Regions from separate parts of the Homo sapiens genome. Here region 2 is linked to region 1. Evidence: promoter capture Hi-C in human tissues and cell types (Jung and others, 2019). All regions are on one chromosome and are shown on one strand. The core of a region is centred on a gene start or on the middle of the fragment in contact, and the rest is flanking DNA. Distances in the headings are between cores, read along the strand shown. Region 1 overlaps LOC105376863 (a long non-coding RNA gene). Region 2 holds the start of FUCA1 (alpha-L-fucosidase 1).

Region 1 (5,458 bases), core at 2,914-5,413:
CTGGGATTACAGGTGCCCACCACCATGACCGGCTAATTTTTATATTTTTAGTAGAGACGGGGTTTCACCACGTTGGCCAGGCTGGTCTTGAACTCCTGACGTCAGGTGATCTGCCCTCCTCGGCCTCCCAAAGTGCTGGAATTATAGGTGTGAGCTACCACGCCCAGCCTAAATCCTAAAAGTATTTTAAAATCTAAAAATATGGGAGGCCAAGGCAGGTGGATCACTTGAGCCTATTAGTTCAAGACTAGCCTGGGCAATGTAGTAAGACCTCATCTGTGCTAAAAAAAAAAAAAAAAAATTTAACTTTTTAAAAAATGGCAAGTAACACTGGTGTCTGTAAAAAGAAGAAATCTAAAAATAAAAAAGTTTACTTTCAAAGAAAGGTTGGAGGTGGCTAAACAGATCTAGCTAAAGCCTTTGTGTCAGGTAAGTACCATTTGCTTCTGGGGAACCCCAATTCTTTTAGCATGTACCCCACTCCACTTATCTGGAAAAAAATCTGGAGCAACAATGCTTGACCTCAACCCAAAGTTATAGAAGGAAACATAATTGACTTCAAATAATATAGCAAACTTTAAGTCCACATATAAAAATTGACTGTTGTCCAGACACAGTGGCTGACGCCTATAATCTCAGCACTTTGGGAGGCCGAGGTAGGAGGGTCACTTGAGTCTACAAGTTTCAGACCAGCCTGGGCAACATAGCAAGACCCTATCTCAACAAAATTTTTTTTTTTAATTAAGCGAGTATGGTGGGGGGAGCCTGCAGTCCCAGCTACTTGGGAGGCTGAAGTAGGTGTATTGCATGAGCGCAGGAGGTCAAAGCTACAGTGAGTTGTGATCATGCCACTGCACTTCAGCCTGGGCAACAAAGCAAAGACCTTGTTTCAAATTTTTTTTTTTGAGACAGAGTCTCGCTCTGTCGCCCAGGCTGGAGTGCAGTGGCATGATCTTGGCTCACTGCAAGCTCTGCCTCCCAGGTTCACACCATTCTCCTGCCTCAGCCTCCCAAGTAGCTGGGACTACAGGTGCCCACCAACACACCCAGCTAATTTTTTCTATTTTTTAGTAGAGACGGGGTTTCACCGTGTTAGCCAGGATGGTCTCCATCTCCTGACCTCATGATCCACCCACCTCGGCCTCCCAAAGTGCTGGGATTACAGGCGTGAGCCTCCGTGCCCGGCCTCAAAATATTTATATAAATTTACTGTCACTCAAAATCTAGGTTTGAAATTCACTCTTGGTCACTAAAGGGGCAGGTGCAGAGTTTTTCTGTCCTGGGTCCTCAGCCTCGTGCCCCATTTCTAGCTCTCTTCCCTGCCCCTCTGCCACCCCACTCCTACCCCCACATGGGACTGCTGCTGTGGAATATGCTTTCTCAATTTCCCAAAAGTCTGAGGTCATCCAAAGAGCCCCCTTACTTACTTAGCAAGTACAGGAGAAGCCTTGCAAATCATTTTTTATTTGCTAGAATTTTCTTTTCACCATTTTTTTCTCCTCTCAAAAGGAAACTTTCCATCCTGCAGGAAGAAGACAAAATAATTATCTCATTCACGTGGTCAATGATAATGACTGTGATAAATGGTCCCAATAAAGAGATTCTTGGGTGAACAGGGATCTCCAAGCATTGCCACGATAGTACACAGAGAGTTTTATCTGTGGTTTATGTACACAAATAAGTTCTGATTGACAGAAAGACTGTGGACTCAACAGCTGACATGTAAAAGGGCAGGATGAGGCCAGGCGTGGTGGCTCATGCCTGTAATCCCAGCACTTTGGGAGGCCGAGGCGGGCAGATCACCTGAGGTCAGGAATTCAAGACCAGCCTGACCAACATGGTGAAACCCCATCACTACTAAAAACACAAAATTAAGCAGGTGTGGTGGCGCATGTCTATGAGCCCAGCTACTTGGGAGGCTGAGGCAGGAGAATCACTTGAACCCAGGAGGCTGAGGTTGCAGTGAGCTGAGATCACACCATTGCACTCCAGCCTGGGCTACAAGGTGAAACTCTATCTCAAAAAAAGAAAAAAAAAAGAGCAGGATGCCAAATGAGCAGGATGCCTCCTTTCTGGGTCTCCTGCCCCCCTTGTATGTCTGCAGGACTACTCGGGGAGGTGACTCCCATGCTCTCTGCCCACATCAATTTGCTTCAGGCTGTACACTTGGCTGTCTCTCTTGGACAAAAACCACCATGTGCCCCAGTTGTGGTCCCTAATATATCCTCAATGCTGGCCAGACCACTCCTGCTCATAGGTCACCGCTCCACCCTGTCACCATCACCTGATTGGATACCAGTTCTCCTCTGATTCACCCCTCATGCATGCTGCAGCTTTGAGTTGCCCAGGAGGGCCATTTCTAACCCCTGAGCAACTGTCAAAGAAAAACAAGCCAGACACTAGTTAAAGCAGTGAAAACAGATTATATGCAGTAATGAGGGGCAGTAGGGAAAGGAGCTGAGCTCTCTTCTGGTTTACCCAGAGGTGACAGCATTTTAAAGGGAGAATGGGAGTGGGAGTGGGAGTGGGAGTGGGTGGAGGCAAGCAGGGACTAAAGGGAAAAATGATCAAGTGAAAATGCAGTCGGCCAGCTGTGTCTGCTAGCTGGTGATCAACAAGGTCGGGATTCTGTCCTCCCACAGAGACTGGGAGACAGAGGCCCTCCTGATAATCACATTTCAAAGGAATGGCTTTCAGGTCTTTGAGAAAGGTAAGTTGTAGGAGATAGACACACATCTCAAAGGGGCAGAGGAAGGAGTCTCAATAGGAAGCCCTTTGCATGAATGCTTTGCAAAAGGGAGGTCAGGGGTCTATGTTAGGTGCTGGCTGCAACAAACAGTTAATTCTTTTGACAGCCCGGAGATTTTACAGACAGGAACTTAAAAGGGGGCTGGATGGTCCCAGAGATGCCACCTTAGGCTGCTAGAAGCCATGCTAGGGCTGGTCAAATCTCTTAGCACAGGAGTTTGGAGTCATTAGGTGAAAAGAGTTCTTGCAGTTCTCACTACCATCACACCAGACCCAGAACCCAACCAGGGCCACTGACCTTGCCCTTGCTATTTGCCTGCCTGCCAACAACCTCTGTTCTTGTCCATGAGCTGCCAACAGCCTCACCAATAATTGCTACTTACATATTTGACTCTGCAGCTCACAGTCTGCTGCTGGCGGAGGAAGGACTCAACTTCCTTCACAGCTTGGACTCCTGGTGCTACAGCTTCATCAACTTTTATGCCTAGATTAGTTTACTTCCCCAGTGCAACCATGAGCCACCACCTGGAGGTCCCAGTTATAGCCACACCCCGTGCAAAGAGCCACTGCCTACATCCCACCCAAGGCCCCACGTCTGAGCCTAGCATGGTGTATTCCTTCTTCTCCATTGTCGCCTCTCTCTCTGGAACACAATTGCACCTACGGTGTGGTTCCATCCCCCACCAAACATGCCCAGGTAAATTTGAACCCCAAGTGAGGGCAAAGCTCACATTTTTCACCTGGTGCTCCTAAACCTGTGTAAATAAACAGTTCTAACCATGCAGCCGGAAGCTATTTTATACTGTTATCTAATGTGGGCTTTGTTCCTGAATCTTTCCGCCCATTTGGGAAGCAGGTAGGACATTTGAAGCTCATTCCCTCAGGAAGTGATGGGGGATACAGCAGAACAAAGAGTCCATTCTTAGCTTTTGAGTTTCAAATAGACCTTTGAAATTTATGCCAGAGAGCATATTTGTGGGGGGAAATAGGGGCAGGAGTTGAATTTTTAAATCTAAAGCCTAGGCCAGGGGCAGTGGCTCACATCTGTAATCCCAGAGCTTTGGGAAGCCAAGGAGAGGATCACTTAAATCCAGGAGTTTTGAGACCAGCCCGGGCAATATAGTGAGACTCTGTTTCTACAAAAAGTAAACAAAAATTCACCAGGCATTTGTGGAGTACCTACAGTCCTAGCTATTTAGGAGGCTGAAGTTGGAGGATCACTTGAGATGGAGAGTTTGAGGCTGCATGAGCCATGATCGCGCCACTGCACTCCAACGGCGACACATTGAGATCCTGACTCATAAAATAAAATAAAATCTGGCGGGGTCCAGTGGCTCATGCCTGTAATCCCAGCACTTTGGGAGGCCGAGGCGAGCGGATCACCTGAGGTCAGGAATTCCAGACCATCCTGGCCAACATTGTGAAACCCCATCTCTACTAAAAATACAAAAATTAACCAGATGTGGTGTCACTCGCCTGAAATTCCAGCTACTCGGGAGGCTGAGGTGGGAGAATTGCTTGAACCCGGGAGGTGGAGGTTGCAGTAAGCCAAGATGGACTCCAGCCTGGGTGACAGAGTGAGGATCCATCTCAAAAAAAATAAAATAAAATAAAATCTAAAGCCTGATAAAAGTTTGTGTCTCAATAAATTCAGCGTGATGAAGTACAGCAATAGCAGCTTCAAGATTGAGAGGAGAGGGGCAAGTTGGGGAGGAGGGAGAGGGTTCTTAGGTGTGTCACTGAGAAGAGGCCCTGTTCCATGTCATGCTAGTTCCCTGGCCCATTCTCAAGGGTAAGAATGATGTCAGACCCCATCAAGTCTCACTGAGGATCCAAGAGCAGAGAAGACCAAAGGCGGATGTTCTGGGAGGCTCCTGCAGCTCAAGCTTTGGGCCCTTTACTTGCACCGGCCTCTTCCAAGGCTCTGGACCTAATTTCATATTAATGGCTTTTATTTTCTTTAGAGAAGACCCCTAGAACTGCTTCAGGATCTGCCCCTGAAGAGGCCCTCAGCCTCACTTTCTCAGAAAGAAGCCCAGGACACTAGCCTGTTGGACGTAAGACCACAAGGAGCAAAAACATACCCTGGCTGAGGCCCCAGATCAACCAGCTCCCAGCCAAACCCCCAGCCGACTGCAGTTGCAAGTGGTCTCGGCCAAGACCAGGAGAAGAACCATCCATCCCACCTCAAATAGCTGACCCACAGAATCATAAACAAATAAGACAGTGTTGTCATAAGCCACTAAATCCAAGAGTGTTTTGTTATACAGAAATAGATAACTGATGCAGTGAATTTGGACAAGTCATCAAAAAAAAAAAAGAATTTTTGGATGAGTCACTTTATTCACTCAAAATAATATTTACTGGGAAAAAAAGTGAAGGGCGGAAGAATACGCCACCCCAAAATATGCTATTTTGGCTTAAGAATTATTTTGAGTTAAAGGCATGAACACTGACATTTTTTCTTTCTGAAAGCAAATTCCCAGTGACAGTTGTTCTTTCAGGACAGGTGCAGTGGCTCACACCTGTAATCCCAACACTTTGGGAAGCCAAGGCAGGAGGATTGTTTGAGTCCAGGAGTTCAAGACCAGCCTCGGCAACATGGTGAAACCCCGTCTCTATTAAAAATACAAAAATTAGCTGGGCGTGGTGGCACATGCCTATCATCCCAGCCACAAGGGAGGCTGAGACACAAGAACTGCTTGAACCC
Region 2 (5,309 bases), core at 1,126-3,625, 150 kb after region 1:
ACATCAGTGCCTCTCACCTGTCCCTGCAGGTTCACATTTTGGTTATGTGGATAAGGAGAAATAAATTGAAGATCACAATGTCCCATTTTATCTTCCCCAAGACAAGCTCTGTAACATTAAAGACCACTATGCAAACCGATTACTAGAAAATGTGTGTGGATGGGTTCGGTTTTTTTCCTAAGGTGTTCATGCTTACTGTTTTGGGCAATATTTCAACATAATCTGGCAGAAAAAGAAACAGAAGATAAAGAAAATAGCTGTAGGCCGGGTGCAGTGGCTCATGCCTGTAATCCCAGCACTTTGGAAGGCTGAGGCTGGCGGATCACTTGAGGTCAGGAGTTCGAGACCAGCCTGGCCAACACGGCGAAACCCCATCTGTATTAAAAATACAAAAATTAGCCAGGCGTGGTGGCGTACCTGTAAACCCAGCTACTCGGGAGGCTGAGGCAGGAGAATGGCTTGAACCCAGGAGGTGGAGGTTGCAGTGAGCTGAGATTGCAGCACTGCATTCCAGCCTGGGCGACAGAGCAAGACTGCATCTCAAAAGAAAAGAAAAGAAAAAAGAAAAGAAAAGAAAAGAAAACAGCTGTGATTCAGCAATAGTCATTTTCTCTCCTTGTCACTGCCAGAGTGAGGAAGTGCTGGGTTCTGTCAACATAGGCTCTGACTTCTCATGAGGTGCAAGAAAGAAGCAGCATGAACAAAGGCATAGATTTTGCACCTGGAGACACGTATTCTAGTCCCACCTCTGACTCAAACTAGCTGCATGATCTTGGGCAGCCCCCCAGCCCTCTCTGGGCTTCAGTTCCCTCCTCGGTACAATGGGAAGGGTAGGGAAGAGGATGGTGCCTAGGATCTTCAAAGTCCCAACTCTGATGTGCTGCCATTCTCTCACTGGCATGTGGGAACTGAGTGTGCTACGTGGAGTCATGAGACTTCTTCTTCCTTTTCTTTTTCTTTTTTTTTTTTTTTTTTTTTGAGACCGAGTCTCACTCTGTCGCCCAGGCTGGAGTGCAGTGGTGCGATCTCGGCTCACTGTAACCTCCACCTCCCGAGTTCAAGCAATTCTCCTGCCTCAGCCTCCTGAGTAGCTGGGATTACAGGCGCACCCCATGCCCGGCTAATTTTTGTATTTTTAGTAGAGATGGGGTTTCACCATGTTGGCCAGGCTGGTCTCAAACTCCCGACCTCAGGTGATCTGCCCACCTCGGCCTCCCAAAGTGCTGGGATTACAGGCGTGAGCCACCTTGTCTGTTCAGAGACTTCTGACTTCCGTATTTCCCTCGCTAATGGCCTCACCTCCCGTTTGAGTATGTGCAGCATGTGCAAATTGCAGAGGAACTGGGGAACTTCCCTGCCAGGCAATCCTGGGTCCTCTTGGCTCTCCACTTCCTCCTTCCTTCCTTCCTTCCTCCTTCCTTCCTTCCTTCCTTCCTTTCTTTCTTCCTTGGTCTGGCTCTGTCGCCCAGGGGCTGGAGTGCAGTGGCGGTATCTCGGTACAAACTAAGCTATTTGAAATGCCTCGGAATTCCCAAAGAAAGCTCAGTAAATACCAGACAGATGAAACGGTCCTGCCCGCTCTCCCTCTTTCAGTACCCAGTTTTCTCTTTCCTCTCCTTTCATAACGTTTCTTCCCATCATCCCTCTACCTCCTTATTTCTGTCAGGGCTGTTAGATACCCTTCCGGTCTGTTATCTCCTCCTCCAGCCTTGTGCTACAGGACAACTCAAAAGCCCCCTATGGCTCCCAAGTGATCACTAAATAAAACTCGTGATCTCACTTCAGCCTACCCCTGCAGGATTGCTGCGGCAAAATGGACTACTCCCAGAGGCGTGATCACGGTTCGGTTCACTGCAGCCCAGACTTCCCGGGCTCAAGCGATCCCGAACCTCCCACCTCAGCCTCTCGAGTAGCTGGGACTCCAGACGTGCACCACTACGCCAGGCTCATTTTGTTTATTTTTTATAGAGACAGGCTAGTCTCCAACTTGTGGGCTCAGAGCGATCCTCCCGCCTCGACTTCCGAAAGTGTTAGGATTACAGGCGTGAGCCACTGCGTCCGGCTCAATGGACTCCTTCTTAAATGTGAGTTCTCCGCACACACTGGGCCTTGCTCACCTCCACGATTTAACCTCGCAGTTAAGTCCCTTTTCAAGGTTTTTATTCGTCCTTCAGCGAAGCGCTGTCAACGCCTCCCTGCGTCTTTCCCTTCTTGAGCACCAGAGGGCGCTCCTCCGACCCGAGGAGGAAGCGACTCGGGCCAACCTGTCCAGGTTGTCCCACCCCTTTTTCCTTCCGGGCCAATCGTTAGTCAGAGTGGGCGGAGCCGCCCGCGGGCACCTGCGCGTTAAGAGTGGGCCGCGTCGCTGAGGGGTAGCGATGCGGGCTCCGGGGATGAGGTCGCGGCCGGCGGGTCCCGCGCTGTTGCTGCTGCTGCTCTTCCTCGGAGCGGCCGAGTCGGTGCGTCGGGCCCAGCCTCCGCGCCGCTACACCCCAGACTGGCCGAGCCTGGATTCTCGGCCGCTGCCGGCCTGGTTCGACGAAGCCAAGTTCGGGGTGTTCATCCACTGGGGCGTGTTCTCGGTGCCCGCCTGGGGCAGCGAGTGGTTCTGGTGGCACTGGCAGGGCGAGGGGCGGCCGCAGTACCAGCGCTTCATGCGCGACAACTACCCGCCCGGCTTCAGCTACGCCGACTTCGGACCGCAGTTCACTGCGCGCTTCTTCCACCCGGAGGAGTGGGCCGACCTCTTCCAGGCCGCGGGCGCCAAGTGAGTGTGGTCCCGGGGAGCGGCGCCCCTTCCCGGCTCGGGCGGCAAACAGGAGGTGGGGCTGGGCGGCCAGCTGGGGCGCGCAGCTGCCGGTCGCCCCCATGACCCCGGGGCCCGCGTGTGGCCTCCTGCGGCCACAGGAGTGAGCCTGGCACACCTGATGAGGAGGAGGAGGTGCGTTTGACTGGGGACTGATAAATGAAGGTTCAGGGAGATGGCAGGCTGGGAAGCCCTGGGTATCTGCACCTGTGCACCGAGAGGGCTGAGTTAGGCCATACCTGATGTCCCTTTCAGATTGACAGCACTATCAGGACTCCAGGGTTTCAAATCAGTGGTGTGGAGCCTGGTTCTAATTCAACTGTGAACCTGGACATGTCACTTCAGCCTCCCTGCAGCCTCTTCTATGGTTGTAGAAAGGGGTTATATAAGGATACAACCCTTTGAGCCCTAATGTCTCTAAGAGGGAAAGAGAGGGGAGTTCTGGTGTGCAGTGTATTTGGGCAACAGTACAGATAGTCATTCGTTTGCTCCTCTCAATCCCTTTTACGTAGGAAGTGTCCAGGAAGGGTCTGACTCTCTCTGAGAACTGTTGGAACTTGGGGGTGGCTGGTTCAGAGAACAGAGTAGAGAGCGCTGGGGTGGGGATAAGGGGAGACCACGACCCATGAAGTTGTCAAGGCAGGGGCTTGTCCTGAAGGAGTGAGCCTTGAGAGCCCTGTATTGACAGATGTTAAGTCAGGGAGTGGTTACTATCAGCTTCTAGAAAGATTCATTCGGCTGCTGGGAGAGAAGTGGGTTGGAGAAGAGTAAAAATGGAGGCGGGGAGGTTTCCCCAGCCCCTGGCTTAGAGCAGTCTTCCATCCTTACCTTGGTTCCTCAGCCATCTTCCGGGTTTTCGTTTCTCTTGAACTTTGAATTCACTTGTACTAAAGAGAAGTTACAACTGGCATTTAGTGTTTGCCATTAAATGTATGGGAGTATAAGACTTGATTAAGCAGAGGAAGTGTTTGTCTCCTAGGGGCCTTAGGGATCCATAACTTACAAGTGAGAAAAATTAAAATCTGGGAGATAACCTCTTTCCATGCCTTTTATTTCATGGATGAGATGACTGGCCCAAAGAGAGGAAGGAATATAATGTCCTAGACTCCAGGTCTCATGACGTCAAGGTTGTTTCCACTGCACCAGGGTCTGCAAACTGGCCAGAGGGATTGGTCCTCTGCCAGTTTTTTAAGGCCCATGAGGTGAGAATGGTTTTTACATTTTTAAAGGGTTGTAAAATGTTTTAAAGAAGAATACACTACAGAGAGGAATGTGCTCCCACAGAGCCTAAAATACTATCTGGCCCTTCAAATCCTGGAGTTCCCTACTCTGGCCAATGATTGAACCATAAAGTGCATTACCTATTTTTGTGCCATAAAAGCAAATTAAATATTGAGTGATTTGGTTGTTATTTCAACACTTGCCTTTTCTCCCAGTTATTGGGTCTTTTGTCACCTCTATAATAAATGAGAGGCAATTTATGTAGGCTTGGTAAACCAAACAGCTTAGTTTTCTAGAAAGTTTTCTATTTTGTTGTTATTGTTGTTTTGAAACAGTTTTGCTCTGTAGCCCAGGCTGGAGTACAGTTGCATGATCTCGGCTCACTGCAACCTCTGTCTCCCAGGCTCAAGTGATTCTTATGCCCCAGCCTCTCAAATACCTGGGACTACAGGCACACACCACCATGCCCGGCTAATTTTTGTATTTTTAGTTGAGATGGGTTTTCGCCTCATTGGCCAGGTTGGTCTTGAACCCCTGACCTCAGGTAATCCGCCCACCTTGGCCTCCCAAAGTGCTGGGATTACAGGTGTGAGCCACCATGCCTGGCCAGCAAATGGCTTAGTTTTCTATTATCTGCCATTTCCAGTAGAGCTCTTTCTCCTTCAGGGCAAAGAATGAAAGAAAGTTAATCGTTCCTACCAGAAGTGTTGAAGAATCAGAGAGCTAAGGTGCACTTCTTTTCCCTTACCCACTCCTTCCTTCCCTCTGGGCCTCCTCCTTTGCTGGGGACTGAGGGTTGGGACTTCCTCAAATCTGCTTCCATTCTTGGAGCAATGCCCAAGGGGAATTGTGACTGCAGCAGCTTCCTGGATATCACTAATATAGTCACTGGTACAAGTACATTTGTTGTGGTCAAGTTCTTTCAGCTATTTAAAAAGCCTCAGGCATGCTGGGCAAGTTCATGCAAGTTCACTGCCCACTTCCTTTGCTCATGTGGTTTTGCTGTCCACAGGTATGTAGTTTTGACGACAAAGCATCACGAAGGCTTCACAAACTGGCCGAGTCCTGTGTCTTGGAACTGGAACTCCAAAGACGTGGGGCCTCATCGGGATTTGGTTGGTGAATTGGGAACAGCTCTCCGGAAGAGGTGAGTGTCCAGGGATGGTTACTCTGTTATCTCTTTGGATCTGGCTGTCAAGAGTTCTGTACCTCCTCTACTTGCGTGTGTTTTCTAGGTTTGCATATAGCAAGTAGCCTGAAGGGCTTTTGGCCTTCTACTCCT

The links. The method cuts DNA at HindIII sites, captures the fragments that hold promoters and counts their contacts. A contact is called where the count stands out against the background at its distance.
Region 2: a contact is called between the fragment with the promoter of FUCA1 here and a fragment that was not itself captured in region 1, in 1 of the 25 tissues and cell types used here (aorta).

What each region holds. Positions count from the first base shown.
Region 1 is chr1:24,019,731-24,025,188 of GRCh38, reverse strand. LOC105376863 (a long non-coding RNA gene) reads right to left here. Exons shown (of 3, transcript XR_947072.3): 2 at 1,428-1,522. Among named protein-coding and RNA genes, the nearest start is that of SRSF10, 42 kb to the right of the region's middle. The HindIII fragment of the contact is 6,846 bases long and covers 741-5,458 here.
Region 2 is chr1:23,865,356-23,870,664 of GRCh38, reverse strand. FUCA1 (alpha-L-fucosidase 1) reads left to right here and starts at 2,375. Exons shown (of 8, transcript NM_000147.5): 1 at 2,375-2,767; 2 at 5,040-5,174. The coding sequence starts at 2,379. CNR2 (cannabinoid receptor 2) reads left to right here. Exons shown (of 2, transcript NM_001841.3): 2 at 1-150. RefSeq lists a silencer at 2,744-2,963 and an enhancer at 4,214-5,309. The HindIII fragment of the contact is 22,530 bases long and covers 1-5,309 here.